Regions from separate parts of the Homo sapiens genome. Here all the other regions are linked to region 1. The links are contacts of gene promoters, found by promoter capture Hi-C in blood cells and fetal thymus (Javierre and others, 2016). All regions are on one chromosome and are shown on one strand. The core of a region is centred on a gene start or on the middle of the fragment in contact, and the rest is flanking DNA. Distances in the headings are between cores, read along the strand shown. Region 1 holds the start of RPLP0 (ribosomal protein lateral stalk subunit P0). Region 2 holds the start of TRA-TGC3-2 (tRNA-Ala (anticodon TGC) 3-2). Region 3 overlaps ATP6V0A2 (ATPase H+ transporting V0 subunit a2). Region 4 holds the start of MTRFR (mitochondrial translation release factor in rescue).

The links. Contacts are between HindIII fragments. The CHiCAGO score rates a contact against its expected background, and 5 or more counts as called.
Region 2: a contact is called between a fragment that was not itself captured here and the fragment with the promoter of RPLP0 in region 1, in 1 of 17 cell types (M0 macrophages). The highest score is 7.3, in M0 macrophages.
Region 3: a fragment that was not itself captured here is called in contact with the fragment with the promoter of RPLP0 in region 1 in 1 of 17 cell types (total B cells); the score reaches 5.5 in total B cells.
Region 4: a contact is called between a fragment that was not itself captured here and the fragment with the promoter of RPLP0 in region 1, in 2 of 17 cell types (naive CD8 T cells and non-activated CD4 T cells). The highest score is 7.2, in naive CD8 T cells.

What each region holds. Positions count from the first base shown.
Region 1 is chr12:120,199,362-120,202,635 of GRCh38, forward strand. It overlaps RPLP0 (ribosomal protein lateral stalk subunit P0), which reads right to left and starts at 1,750. Exons shown (of 8, transcript NM_001002.4): 1 at 1,722-1,750; 2 at 1,369-1,470; 3 at 1-124. The coding sequence starts at 1,422. PXN-AS1 (PXN antisense RNA 1) reads left to right here and starts at 1,930. Exons shown (of 4, transcript NR_038924.1): 1 at 1,930-2,065. RefSeq lists enhancers at 1-395, 1,436-1,505, 1,906-2,265. The HindIII fragment of the contact is 6,201 bases long and covers 233-3,274 here.
Region 2 is chr12:124,919,686-124,922,959 of GRCh38, forward strand. TRA-TGC3-2 (tRNA-Ala (anticodon TGC) 3-2) reads right to left here and starts at 2,141; the gene lies at 2,070-2,141. RefSeq lists enhancers at 1,347-1,536, 1,372-2,050, 1,617-1,936 and a cis regulatory region at 1,592-1,762. The HindIII fragment of the contact is 6,001 bases long and covers 1-3,274 here.
Region 3 is chr12:123,714,718-123,717,991 of GRCh38, forward strand. The region is part of intron 1 of ATP6V0A2 (ATPase H+ transporting V0 subunit a2); the gene reads left to right. It overlaps LOC105370042 (a long non-coding RNA gene), which reads right to left. Exons shown (of 3, transcript XR_945477.4): 2 at 783-846; 3 at 1-17. Among named protein-coding and RNA genes, the nearest start is that of ATP6V0A2, 4.0 kb to the left of the region's middle. The HindIII fragment of the contact is 5,850 bases long and covers 1-3,274 here.
Region 4 is chr12:123,233,402-123,236,675 of GRCh38, forward strand. MTRFR (mitochondrial translation release factor in rescue) reads left to right here and starts at 35. Exons shown (of 3, transcript NM_152269.5): 1 at 35-130. It also overlaps a transcript of MPHOSPH9 not described here. The HindIII fragment of the contact is 3,144 bases long and covers 1-3,102 here.

The sequences.
Region 1 (3,274 bases), core at 500-2,999:
TGGTGTTCTTGCCCATCAGCACCACAGCCTTCCCGCGAAGGGACATGCGGATCTGCTGCATCTGCTTGGAGCCCACATTGTCTGCTCCCACAATGAAACATTTCGGATAATCATCCAATAGTTGCTACAAAAAACAAGCCAGAGGAGCCAAGTTTAACAGGAAGAGAGAGGGAAAAAATGCCAGAAGAAACTGAACCCCACAATTTGTTTCCATCCCACTCCCTTTCTTCTAAGCTTTTGAAGTCAGAGGGAGATTGGGAGCTACGTTGTAACACTGCCAAACTGGATGATTGGCTAGCTGGGTATGAACGCTGAAAATTAGGTTTCTACATTCAATCAAGGAGTTTTTTCTTTTTTTACTTAGTTTTTAATTTTTCCCAATTACCAGGCATGCTTCTGATTCACTAAAATGGTTAACAGGATAAAAAAGGAATGTTCCAAGTAAGTTGGTCAAGAGGAGGGCTAGATTCACAGCATTAAAAGCACCACGTTAAGCAAATATAGCAACATTATTATTTGTAAAAACAATCTAGGCGTGTTTATCCGGATTGTTACACAATTCCTTTGGGTTTTGTGTCTGAAAACCTTCTAAGTGTGGGAAAATGTAATACAAGCTATGCTCTACAATGCTGCCTAATTGCTTAAGCGCAGTACAGTCAGCATTTCTGGGCAAGGGAGACCCACCTCAAAGGCCATCCAAAAGTCATTGGACACTTAAGTTTCTTGGCTGACAGGTCCTAAATATGCAACAGCTTGCTTCCTTACAATGAGTCATTCCTGACCTCAGACCTTCTCAAAAATGGAGTAAAACTGTAATGTGCGGCCGGGCGCGGTGGCTCACACCTGTAATCCTAGCACTTAGGGAGGCCGAGGAAGGTGGATCATGAAGTCAAGAGATCGAGACCATCCTGGCCAACATGGTGAATCCCTGTCTCTATTGAAAATACAAAAATTAGCTGGGTGTGGTGTCGCGCCCCTGTAATCCCAGCTACTCGGGAGGCTGAAGCAGGAGAATCGCTTGAACCTGGGAAGCGGAGGTTGCAGTAAGCCAAGATCAAGCCACTGCACTCCAGCCTGGACAACAGAGCGAGACTCCGTTTAAAAAAAAAAAAGTATAAAGCGCGCTCTTTTAGAAGCCAGACAGACCTGGATACGAATGCTGTCATCTTAGGACCCACTTAACTTGCCTGAGCCCGTTTATCTGCAACAGAAGGGACCTATCTCAGGAAATTGTTAACTAAACAGTATTTTCCCAAAAATGGCCTAATTCAGTAGCCGGTGTGAGTAGACCCTCAGCACATAGCAGCTGACTGTCCCTATTTGCGCTGGGGCAACATGAAGAGCAGAGGCGACCCACCCTGCACTTACGATGATCTTAAGGAAGTAGTTGGACTTCCAGGTCGCCCTGTCTTCCCTGGGCATCACGGCGGTGCGTCAGGGATTGCCACGCAGGGTTTAAAGACGATGTCACTGAGGAGAGACAGGGAGCTCAGGCCTGGTCACGCCGACACCCATCCCGCGGTCCCGGGCCTAAGAGGAGCAGGACACGCGCAATCGCCCGCCGGCCCTGCCTAGGGCAGCGGCCGTCATCTCGGGGCGTGCAAGCCGCCACCGAGGCCCCAGGCGGAACAGAATAGGACTCCATGTTCCCAAAGGCCCCCAAAGACCCCTCCATGCTTCCCGCCGGCGACCCCTGGCGCCCATCTAACTAGCACACGAACCTTCCACGAGGACGCCTGGCGAGAGAAGGGCCTCGCGCCCGCGCGTGCCTTTTATAATGCGAACAAAGTAGCCAATCAGAAACCGCGGATAGCGCTCCTGTCTATTGGCTGCGCCATCGCCCGTCAGACAAAGCTGAACGAATACAGGCAACCATTGGATAATATCGCTGCCACTCCAGCCAACGGAAAGCCGCCTTTAAGTAGGGTCGCGAAGGAAGGCGCTGCCTCGCGTTGGAGGAGCTTGCTCTGAGCTGCTGCCACCTGCTGGGCTGGAGCTGGAGCTGGAGCTGCGAATTCGGAGTCCCGGTTCCCTGTGCCACCTGGCGAGCTCAGCAAACTAAAAGGTATGACGTGGAGCTGAGACATAATTGCACATGCTTAGAAACAGAATGGTTTCTCTTTTTTTTTTTTTTTTTGAGACGGAGTGTCGCTCTGTCGCCCAGGCTGGAGCGCAGTGGCGCCATCTCGGCTGACTGCAAGCTCCGCCTCCCGGGTTCACGCCATTCTCCTGCCTCAGCCTCCGGAGTAGCTGGGACTACAGGCGCCCGCCACCGTGCTCGGCTAATTTTTTTTTTGTATTTTTAGTAGAGACGGGGTTTCATCATGTTCTCCAGGATGGTCTCGATCTCCTGACCTCGTGATCTGCCCGCCTCGGCCTCCCAAAGTGCTGGGATTACAGGCGTGACCCGCCGCGCCCGGCCTCAGAATGGTCTCTCGTCTTCTCTAGTTTTTCCGCCTACCAAAACAGAGGGATCCTTTAAAACCTGGCCGGGCGCGGTGGCTCACGCCTATACTCCCAGCACTTCGGGAGGACGAGGCGGGTGGATCACCTGAGGTCAGGAGTTCGAGACTAGCCTGGCCAACATGGCAAAACCCCGTCTCTACTAAAAATACAAAAATTAGCCAGGTGGGGTGGCGCATGCCCGTAATCCCAGCTACTCAGGAGGCCGAGGCAGAAGAATCGCTTGAACCCGGGAGCTGTGAGCTCTGCAGTGAGCTAAGATCACACCATTGCACTCTAGCCTGGGTGACAGAGAGGGACTCCATCTCAAAAAAAAAAAAAAAAAAAAAAAAACCTAAGTCAGCTCATCTCCTTATCTGCTTAAAACTTTCCGTTTCCTACAGAGTAAAAATCTAAAACCTAAAGTACCTACAAGGCCCTTACCTATCTGTCCCTCACGCCCACTCTGATCATCTCAGATGTTTTCCTCCTCACTTACTTGCTTTCTACCCAGATGATGCTCTGCTGCTTTTCCAGAGCAGGCTTTACTTGGGGGCTTTTGCATTAGCCATTCCCTCTTCCTAGAAAACTAGCCAACAAACATCCATAGAATAATTCACCTCCATCAAATCTTTTTTTTTTTTTTTTTTTTTTTTTTTTTTTTTTGAGAAGCAGTCTCACTCCGTTGCCCAGGCTAGAGTGTAGTGGAGCAATCTCAGTTCATTGCAGACTTGACCTCCCAGGCTGAAGTGATCCTCCCACCTCAGCCTCCCAAGTAGCTAGGACTACAGGCACACACCACCACGCCAAGCTAATTTTTTGTACTTTTTGT
Region 2 (3,274 bases), core at 258-2,757, 4.7 Mb after region 1:
GACCAGTGCTTGAGATATTTTGCATACTCTGCACTCAGTGGGCCGACTGACACCACCCAGATTGATAAACTGGCTCATCTGGTCTTGTGGCCCCCACCTAGGAACTGACTCAGGGCAAAGGGACAGCTTCGACTCCCTGTGATTTCATCTCCGACCCAACCAATCAGTACTCCCGATTTCCCGACCTCCCTACACACCAAATTATCCTTCAAAACTCCAATCCCTGAGTTTTCAGGGAGACTGATTTGAGTAATAGTAAAACTCCCGTCTCCCACACTGCCAGCTGTGTGTGAATTAAACGTTCTCTATTATGGCAGGGCGAGGTGGCTTGCGCCTGTAATCCCAGCACTTCGGGAGGCTGAGGTGGGCGGATCACAGTTTCCCTGTCCTAATAAATGGGCTCTGTCTAGGCAGCGGGCAAGGAGAAACTGTTGGGCAGTTACAGAAGCATGTAAGTTTTGTGTTAGGCCTGATGACTTCAGAAATTATCTTCAATGATTTTCCCCTAAAACCTTGTTGACATTTAGGGAGAAATAACCTTTCCTGAAGCTCATTAGAAACAAGCTGTCACCAATGCGTCACCACCTAACTGGTGAGTCAGTTCGCAAGTTTCATTTTCTTCATCTCAAAAATGAAAGCTCTAGATCTAGGATTAGACGCTTTTACCATTTAAAACATGAAGTCAAGTCAAATGAAAGAAAGGGGCTGACAGGTGAGGAATTCATTATAATTGCAAAGAACTGTACCACAGAATGCAGCCGAATCCCTTCTTTCATTCTTATTATTATTTAGAGAGCTGGGAACTGGTTAAACTTTAAAAAATATAATTTATTTTTATGTATTTATTTTTGCCTAAAGATCATTCATGCAAGTAAATCAATCTCCCCTCCCCTCCCCTTCCCCTTTCCCTCCCCTTCCCCTTCCTTTCCTTTCCTTTCCTTTCCGAGCCAAGGTCTCCCTTTGTTGCCCAGGCTGCTTTCAAACTCCTGGCCTCAAGCAATTCTCCTGCCTCATGCCTCCCAAAGTGCTGGGATTACAGGCCTGAGCCACCATCTTTTGCTTTCAGTGATAAAACACAGAAACACAGTGGAGGTGAAAGCAACTCCATCTTGGTTGCTAATCCACCAAGATAACTTCCGATTAATGCCTCTTCCAGGAAGGTCTCTAAGATTTCTACTTTACTGTTACCATAAATTCTGCCCTTAGATCAGAACAACCTAGATCATAAATCCTTCCCTTATGCGGATTCACATAACATTCTTGCCTTGCTTGAGGGGTCAACTTCAATTGTCCTACATATATTCCTTCCCTATGGTATGGAAGCCCTGGGCCGGGGGTTATGGCGCAGCAAACCTTATATCCTCTGATGACCACCCTGAGACTATGGCTTCTGTTGGTAAGTCCCTAATAAATGTTTTTTCCTGAGAAACTGGGTTTGTCAACCCCTTTCTTTGGCCTCTCAGCTCCCTTGGCCTTTGGGGTAGGTTTGCATAGGCCTGCTCACCCCGGAACACAGTGTATGAATATAAATGTAAATTGCACTTGCATTACAGCCGTGGAGACGTGTTGCTGAGGAAGCAGAGAGCAAAGCCCCGCTGGGATGTGAGTTTGCTTCTGGGTTCCTCCCATGCAAATGAGGTGGTTCGTGGCAGTGCAGAGGAGGAGTGAGATGGCAAACAGGGGGGCCCAGACCTTCCAGCAACTTACACACTTGCCCTCTGATGGCCAAGAATGCGTCAACAGCCCTCGAGGCCAGTGCAGTACAATCATGGTGGCACGAGATGTGGTGTACACTCCCCAAATGATCATCCTGCTCACTTTTGCTGTGGTTTCAGTCATCAAGTCAGGTTTTGCCTTAACACTTTTCTGCTGATTACTCCCATCAGCCTCTTCTAACTCATGTGCATTTGAAACATTAGAGATTTCAGAATGGGAAGATCACACCTGGTGTGAGAATCTGAGCTCCAAGTAGTGCCTGGAATCACAATGCTTATGATAATCACATCCATGGCACTTTAATGATAAAGAACCACGGACCAAAACGAATACAGAAAGCAACAAAACTACAATGGAGATGCCGGGGATCGAACCCGGGGCCTCATACATGCAAAGCATGCGCTCTACCACTGAGCTACATCCCCCTCCCTTTCCTGTACTTGCTTTTGGAAGTCCTTGCTATACTCTATTCTTAAAGGCGTTTTTCCTGTTTCCACGTGTTTCATTTTTATTTTTGGTTTTTATTATTGTTTGGACGCATAACAATTGTGCACATTTATGAGGTGTGGTGTGATGTTGTGATCTATGTACACAATTTGTAATGTTCAAATCAGGGCAATGACCACATCCATCCCTTCAAACATGTATCATTTCTCTGTGCTGGGAGACATTAAAAATCCACGCTTCCAGCTATTTGAAAACGTACAATAAGTTGTTGTATTCACTCTATAGGGACACTGGAACTTATTCCTCCTATTCAGCTGTACTTTTGTATCCAGTAACCCCCCTTTGGCTATCCCACCTCCCCCCACCTTCACTACCTGCAGTAACCACTATTCTCTCTGTGAGACCAACTATTTCAGCTTCCGCACGTGAGTGAGATCATGCAGTATTTATCTTTCTGTGCCCGGTTTATTTCACTTTATGTAATGTCGCCCAAACTTAGCCATGTTTTTATTTTTGTTTCGTAGAGGAAAAATGACAGGATTTCATTTTGTTTTGTATTTTTTTAAGGTCGAATAGTATTCTATTGCGTATGTACACATTTTCTCTATCCATGTATCTGTTGACGGACACATCTAGGCACTTATGAATAAAGCTGCAATACACACGGGAGTGCGAGAGGCTTTTAGTTTTTGGTTGGTTGGTTTGTTTTGAGACAGAGTTTTGCTCTGTCGCCCAGGCTGGAGTGCAGTGGCATGATCTGGGCTCACTGCAACCTCCGCCTCCTGGGTTCAAGCGATTCTCCTGCCTCAGCCTCCCGAGTAGCTGGGACTACAGGCGTGCACCACCACGCCTGCTAATTTCTGTATTTTTAGTAGAGATGGGGGGGGGTTCAGCATGTTGGCCAGGCTGGTCTCGAACTCCTGACCTCAGGTGATCTGCACCCCTTGGCCTCCCAAAGTGCTGGGATTACAGGCGTGAGCCACTGCGCCCAGCCAAGGATATTTTCTAAATTAAACTTTTGTGTGTTTAAGTGAGTGTTAGAGTTTAGCAAAACCACCACAACAACAAAAAATTGTTTTATGTTTCCCAAGTAGGTTAGCTCTTCATAACC
Region 3 (3,274 bases), core at 492-2,991, 3.5 Mb after region 1:
TGAATTAGGGTGCTGCCCTAAAAGGGAAAAAAAACCCAAAATTTATAAAAGAAACCACACAATAGAAAAAAAAAGTTAATATGTCTGGGCACGGTGGTTCACGTCTGTAATCCCAGCACTTTCGGAGGCCAAGGCGGGCAGATCACAAGGCCAAGAGTTCGAGACCATCCTGGCCAACATGGTGAAACCCTGTCTCTACTAAAAATACAAAAATTAGCTGGGCATGGCGGGGTGTGCCTGTAGTCCTAGCTACTCTCAGAAGGCTGAGGCAGGAGAATCACTTGAACCCAGGAGGCAGAGGTTGCAGTGAGCTGAGATCGCGCCACTGCACTCCAGCCTGGCAACAGAGCGAGACTCCGTCTCAAAAAAAAGTTAATATATGTAAGCTGGTGATGGTGGTGTATGTATGTGAAATCCATGTTTGTATTATTGCCACAGAAATTTACCTCTTTATAAATAAAGATTCTACTATTTGTAGAAACATCATGCCCATTTAGAGTTAAGTACTATTTGATATTGAAGGAAGAAAATGAAAGCTGAGAAGTAGTATCCTGTGACAGCTTTAGACACAGAACTTCCTTTCCAACAAGTTCCATAGAACTAGATTGTGTCTGAATCATTAGTAACTTGGAAGTGGTTACTTTTAGTTCGACCTCCAGAAATGAATGAGAAGGTGACAAACAGAAGTGAAATGAGAATTTTTACCTTTTTTCTGGTTCTTTTAAAAAAAAAGTCCCCAAAAAATGAACAAGAACTGAGTCAGACACTGAGTAGACACTTACCAGGTTGAGCAGTTTCATGTCAAGTTGTATCTTAACTGTTTCTTGAGAGTGCCCAGTACAAATCCTGGATGGAATAAAGATAAATTTCGTGTCTTAAATGGCTTTCAACATGAATGATATACTGTAAATTGTTGAAGTATGAAAGTGATAGATGACCATTGTGAGAAATGTGGAAAACATAAGAATAGTAACATACCTTGCATGATCCCAACGCCTAGAAATTAACTTTAACTTTTTGGCTAATACTGGACAATCAGCATTTCTCTAATAATGTTTAAAAATGTCCATATATATGTATTTTTATATAATTTGAACCACACTGAAAACATCCTAATCTGCTTTACACAGAAATCATGACTAACTTCCTAATTTTATTAAATATTCTTTTACAACTTTTTAAAATTGTTTTAAACTTTATATTATAAGTAGAGGGAAGAGTACAGTGTACCCCCATGTACCCATAAATGTAAACTTAGTTTTTTCTCACTTCCCAGACTAGATCATTTTGAAGCAAATCCAAGATATATAATTTAACTTTTCAACAAGTACCTCTAAAAGATGAATTTTTTTTCTTTTTTTTTTTTGAGATGGAGTCTCAATTCTGTCGCCCAGGATGGAGTGCAGTGGCGCGATCTCAGCTCATTGCAACCTCTGCCTCCCAGGTTCAAGTGATTCTCATGCCTCAGCCTCCTGAGCAGCTGAGATCACAGGCGCGCGCCACCACGCCTGGCTAATTTTTGTATTTTTAGTAGAGACGGGGTTTCACCATGTTGGCCAGGCTGGTCTCCAACTCCTGACCTCAAGTCATCCCCCCACCTTGGCCCCCCAGAGTGCTGGGATTACAAGCATGAGCCACCAGGCCTGGCCTAGAAGATAAAAAATTATTACCAACATTGTACCTGAAAATTTAAATAACATTTCTTAATATAATCAAATACCTGGTCATTTTTACACAACTTTATTGAGGTGTATGGTAGAGTTTACCCATGATTTTTAGAAAGTTTATGGAGGCCGGGTGCAGTGGCTCACACCTGTAATCCCGGCACTTTGGGAGGCTGAGGCAGCCACATCACTTGAGCCCACCAGTTTGAGACCAGCCTGAACAACATGGCGAAACCCCATCTCTACCCAAAATACAAAAATTAGCCGGGTGTGGTGGCACGTGCCTTTAATCCCAGCTACTCAGGAGGCTGAGGCAGGAGGATCGCTTGAACCTGGGAGGCAGAGGTTGCAGTGAGCTGAGATTGCGCCACTGGACTTCAGCCTAGGCGACAGTGAGATCCTGTCTCAAAAAAAAAAAAAAAGAGTTTATAGAGTCATGCATCCATTGCCACAATTGTTTTAGAACATTCCATCACCCCAGAAGATTCTTAATGCTCATTTACAGTTAATCCTTATTCCTACCCCCACCCCCCCAGCACCCACTAATCTGCTTGCTGCCTCTAGGGTTGTCTGGACATTCCATGTAAGTGGAATCGCACAGTATGTGGCTTCTTGTGTCTGGCTGCTTTCACTTAGTATGAAAGTCATCCAGGGTGGGCGTGGTGGCTCACGCCTGTAATCCTAGCATTTTGGGAGGCCGAGGTGGGCGAATCATCTGAGGTCAGGAGTTTGAGACCAGCCTGGCCAACATGGTGAAACCCCATCTCTACTAAAAATACAAAAATTAGCCGGGGGTGGTGGCACTTGGCTGTAATCCCAGCTACTCGGGAGGCTGAGGCAGGAGAATCGCTTGAACCTGGAAGGCGAAGGTTGCAGTGAGCCAAGATACTGCCAGTACGTTCCAGCCTGGGCAACAGAGCGAAACTCTGTCTCAAAAAAAAAAAAAAAAAAAAAAGAGAAAGTCATCCCTGTTGTTGCATGGGTCAGTAGTTCATTCCTTTTTATTGCTAAGTAGCATTCCATTGTGTGGATATAGACTGTAATTTCTTTTCTTTTCTTTCTTTCTTTTTTTTTTTTTTTTGAGACAGGCTCTTGCTTTGTCACCCAGGCTAGAGTGCAGTGGTGTGATCACTGCTCACTGCAATCTCGATCTCCTGGGCTCAAGCAATCCTCCTGCCACAGCCTTCTGAGCAACTGGGACCACAGGCGTGCACCACCAGGCCTGGCTAATTTTTTATTTTTTGGAGAGATGGTGTCTTACCATGTTGCCCAGGCTGGCCTCAAACTACTGGCCTCAGGTAGTCCTCCCACCTCAGCCTCCCAAATTGCTGGGATTATCAACACGAGCTGCTGTGCCTGGCTATAATTTCTTTAACTACGCTACTGTAATTTCTTGAACTAGTTTTCTATTGTTGGATTTTTGGGTTATCATTTTTTCTTTTTCCCTGAGATTGATGTTGTCATAGATTTTCATCTGTTTCCATAGCTTTTTCCTTAGGTTAAATTTTCTTCATGGGGTATTGCTGGGCAAATAATCATTTTCAGGATTTTTTCTTTTTTTGACCCAGGGTCTCACTGTGTCACCTGGGCTGGATTGCAGTGGTGTGATC
Region 4 (3,274 bases), core at 281-2,780, 3.0 Mb after region 1:
TGGTAGATAAGAGAAACCGCGATCGGAGTACGGCGCGTGCGCAGATCAGGGATCGCGATTGCGAATCCTCCGCTGAGGTGATTTGGATATCCCTAGAACGTTGAGGGCACGAGTCGGGTCCTGAGACCAGGTAAGCATCTGCGGAGAAGCCAGGTAACCCTACGGCTGCCGACGACTGTCAAAGGCTCCGGAGAGAGGACTGCGAGCCGGGACGCCTGGGTTTTTCCCGACTTGCGACCCCGAGTGGCGCAGCCAGTTTACCTGAGGCCGCGCTGGCGGTGGGGTGGGGCCGGCCGTGACACCCGAGCTCAGTTTTCTCGGGACCTGGTTTACGCTAGGTGCTGTGGGTCGGCCCTGGGGCTGTTCAGGCACTCAGGGCAGGGGAGAGGAGAGACTACCGTCCTGGAGATAACGGTTCCACGGAGGCCCAAGGCGAAACGGAAGGATCCTCATGTACAAAACTGAGCGGAATGGAGCTGTGAGCACGCATCAGGTGCTGTTTCAGGCCTGGCACGTAGTAGAGGTCAGCACTGCCCTTGCTAGGCTTTTGCGGAGATACTCGTTTTTTTTTTAATAGACGTGGGGTGGGGGGGTCTCACTGTGTTGCCCAAGCTGATCTCGAACTCCTGGCCTCAAGCGATCCTCCTTCCTCGGCCTCCCAAAGTGCTGGGATCACAGGCGCAAGCCACCCAGCCCTACTTTTGAAGGACCAAAGGGAACTCGCTCTCCTCCCCGTGGGACCCCAGCCCATTTCATGCGCACTGTGCAGGCCACATTCTTCAGCATAGTTAACCTTTAAGGTCTTTCCAGCTACTCGATTTACCTCCAGGAGTTCTGGCTCACAGTAAAGGGACTTCCCTGGCACTATCACTTAGGCCTCCACAACCCAGGAAATGGATCTGCCCTTGGAATAACAGATCTGCCAGGAGGCGTTACATCTCATTGGAGCTTCCTAAGTATACCTACCAATTTTTTTTTACTTTTTTTATTTTTGTGGGGGAGGGGGGTAGGGGGGACAAGGTCTCTCTCTGTCACCCAGGCTGGAGGGCAGTGGCGCGATCTCGGCTCACTTTAACCTCTGCCTCCCGGGTTCAAGTGATTCTTCTGCTTCAGCCTCCCGAGTAGCCGGGAATACCGGTGCCCGCCACCACATCCGGCTAATTTTTTGTATTTTTAGTAGAGACGGGGTTTTGCCATATTGGCCAGGCTGGTCTCGAATTCCTGACCTCAGGTCATCCTCCTGCCTCGGCCACCCAAAGTGCTGGGATTACAGGCATGAGCCACCACGCCTGGCAATTTTCAAAGGGTAAATTTGATGTTATCCTATCTTTCATGATTTTTTAAATTATATTACATAATTCCAAAAGATATTTTATGTTTAAACCAGGACTTACTTCATTGAAGATGGTTTTATCTTTCAGTGTGAACCTGCTGGGAAGTCAGGCTATATTTTTGGCATCACAGTGATCTCCTTAGTACCTGATTTCACAGACCAGAATTATGATCCCACCAAATAACATGTTTTCAGTAATGTCATGGCTTATCAAGTACTTCTTAAATTGGACCATACCAAGTAAAATAATTTACAAGCCACTGTTGTAGATGCCTTTTCACCCTAAGCTCTAAAACAAAGGCCGATGAAATAATCAGTTCCCAGACTGGGTTTGTGTCATAAGACAACAGTGTATGTGGTGTGTCATTCCAAAGTTCCTCAGCCTTGTAGTTGAGAGATCTGACATGCTCCCATTTAGTGACCACTAAGTACTTTACATTTATGGCAACATGTATGATTTTGTTCGCACTCTAGGTAGTAGTATCTCCATTCTACAGATGAGGAATTAGAGCCAAAGTTACCCAGTAAGTAAATTGTGGCATTGAGACATTGAACGCAGGTCTGTTGGCCACAGAGCTCGCAATCCTTGGCAGGAAGGCCTTTTTGGGACAAAAGAAAAAATGAGAGGAGTCGTCAAATACAGAAAGTCAGGCTGGTCCAAACGTAGTGAGTTTTGTGTGTGTGTGTGTGACAGAGCTCAGCTCACTGCAAGCTCCGCCCCCCAGGTTCACGCCATTCTCCTGCCTTAGCCTCCCTAGTAGCTGAGACTACAGGTGCCTGCCACCAGGCCCAGCTAATTTTTTTTTTTTTTGTATTTTTAGTAGAGATGGGGTTTCACCGTGTTAGCCAGGTTGGTCTCGATCTCCTGACCTCATGATCCACCTGCCTCGGCCTCCCACGGTGCTGGGATTACAGGCGTGAGCCACCGCGCTCGGCCTGGTAGTGAGTTATCTTAATTAATTGTTCACAGTCACAGATCAAACTTCTTGTTCTACTCTTTCCCCCTTCTCTACTGTACTTGACTAGTCTTTTTAAAAAGAGAAAGTTGGCCGGGCGTGGTGGCTCATGCCTGTACTCCCAGCACTTCGGGAGGCCGAGGCAAGCGGATCGCTTGAGGTCAGGAGTTCGAGACCAGCCTGGCCAACATGGTGAAACCCCATCTGGGCTAAGAATACAAAAATTAGCTGGGCGTGGTGGCTGGTGCCTATAATCCCAGCTACTTGGGAGGCTGAAGCAGGAGAATCGCTGGAACCCGGGAGGCAAAGGTTGTAGTGAGCCAAGATGGTGCCACTGCACTCCAGCCTGGGCAACAGAGTGAGACTCGTCTCAAAAAAATAAATAAATAAAAACTTAAAACAGAAAAAGTTAAGGAAAAGGAGCTAACATTGCCTAAGAAACTGGAAAAAGATCTGGAGATATGAAAGGTAATGAAACAAGGTGTAGAAAGGATAATTTAGTTTCAAAAATTGAAAACCTAATGGTTTCCAAGATAGGTCTTACTGAGATAATCAGGAAGTGTGCATCTCTTATTTTCTTTATTTGTATTAAATACAATAATGTATTTGAAAGTGCTTTGCAGCTGCACGTGGTGGCTCACGCCTGTAATCCCATCACTTTGGGAGGCTGAGGCAGGAGGATTGCTTGAGCCCATGAGTTCGAGACCTGCCTGGGCAACATGGCAAGACCCCATCTCTACAAAAAATTAAAAACTAGCCAGGTATGGTGGTACACACCTGTGGCCCCAGCTACTGGGGAGGCTGAGGCAAAGAAGCTTGCTTGAGCCCAGGAGGTCAAGGCTGCACTGAGCCATTTTTATGCCACTGCACTCCACTTGGGTGACAGAGGGAGACCCTGTCTCAAAAAAAAAAAAAAGAAGAAGAAACTGCTTTGGTTTGTATATGTTTAAGTCCTAAACAAACACAAGGCATCGTTAATAGAAAT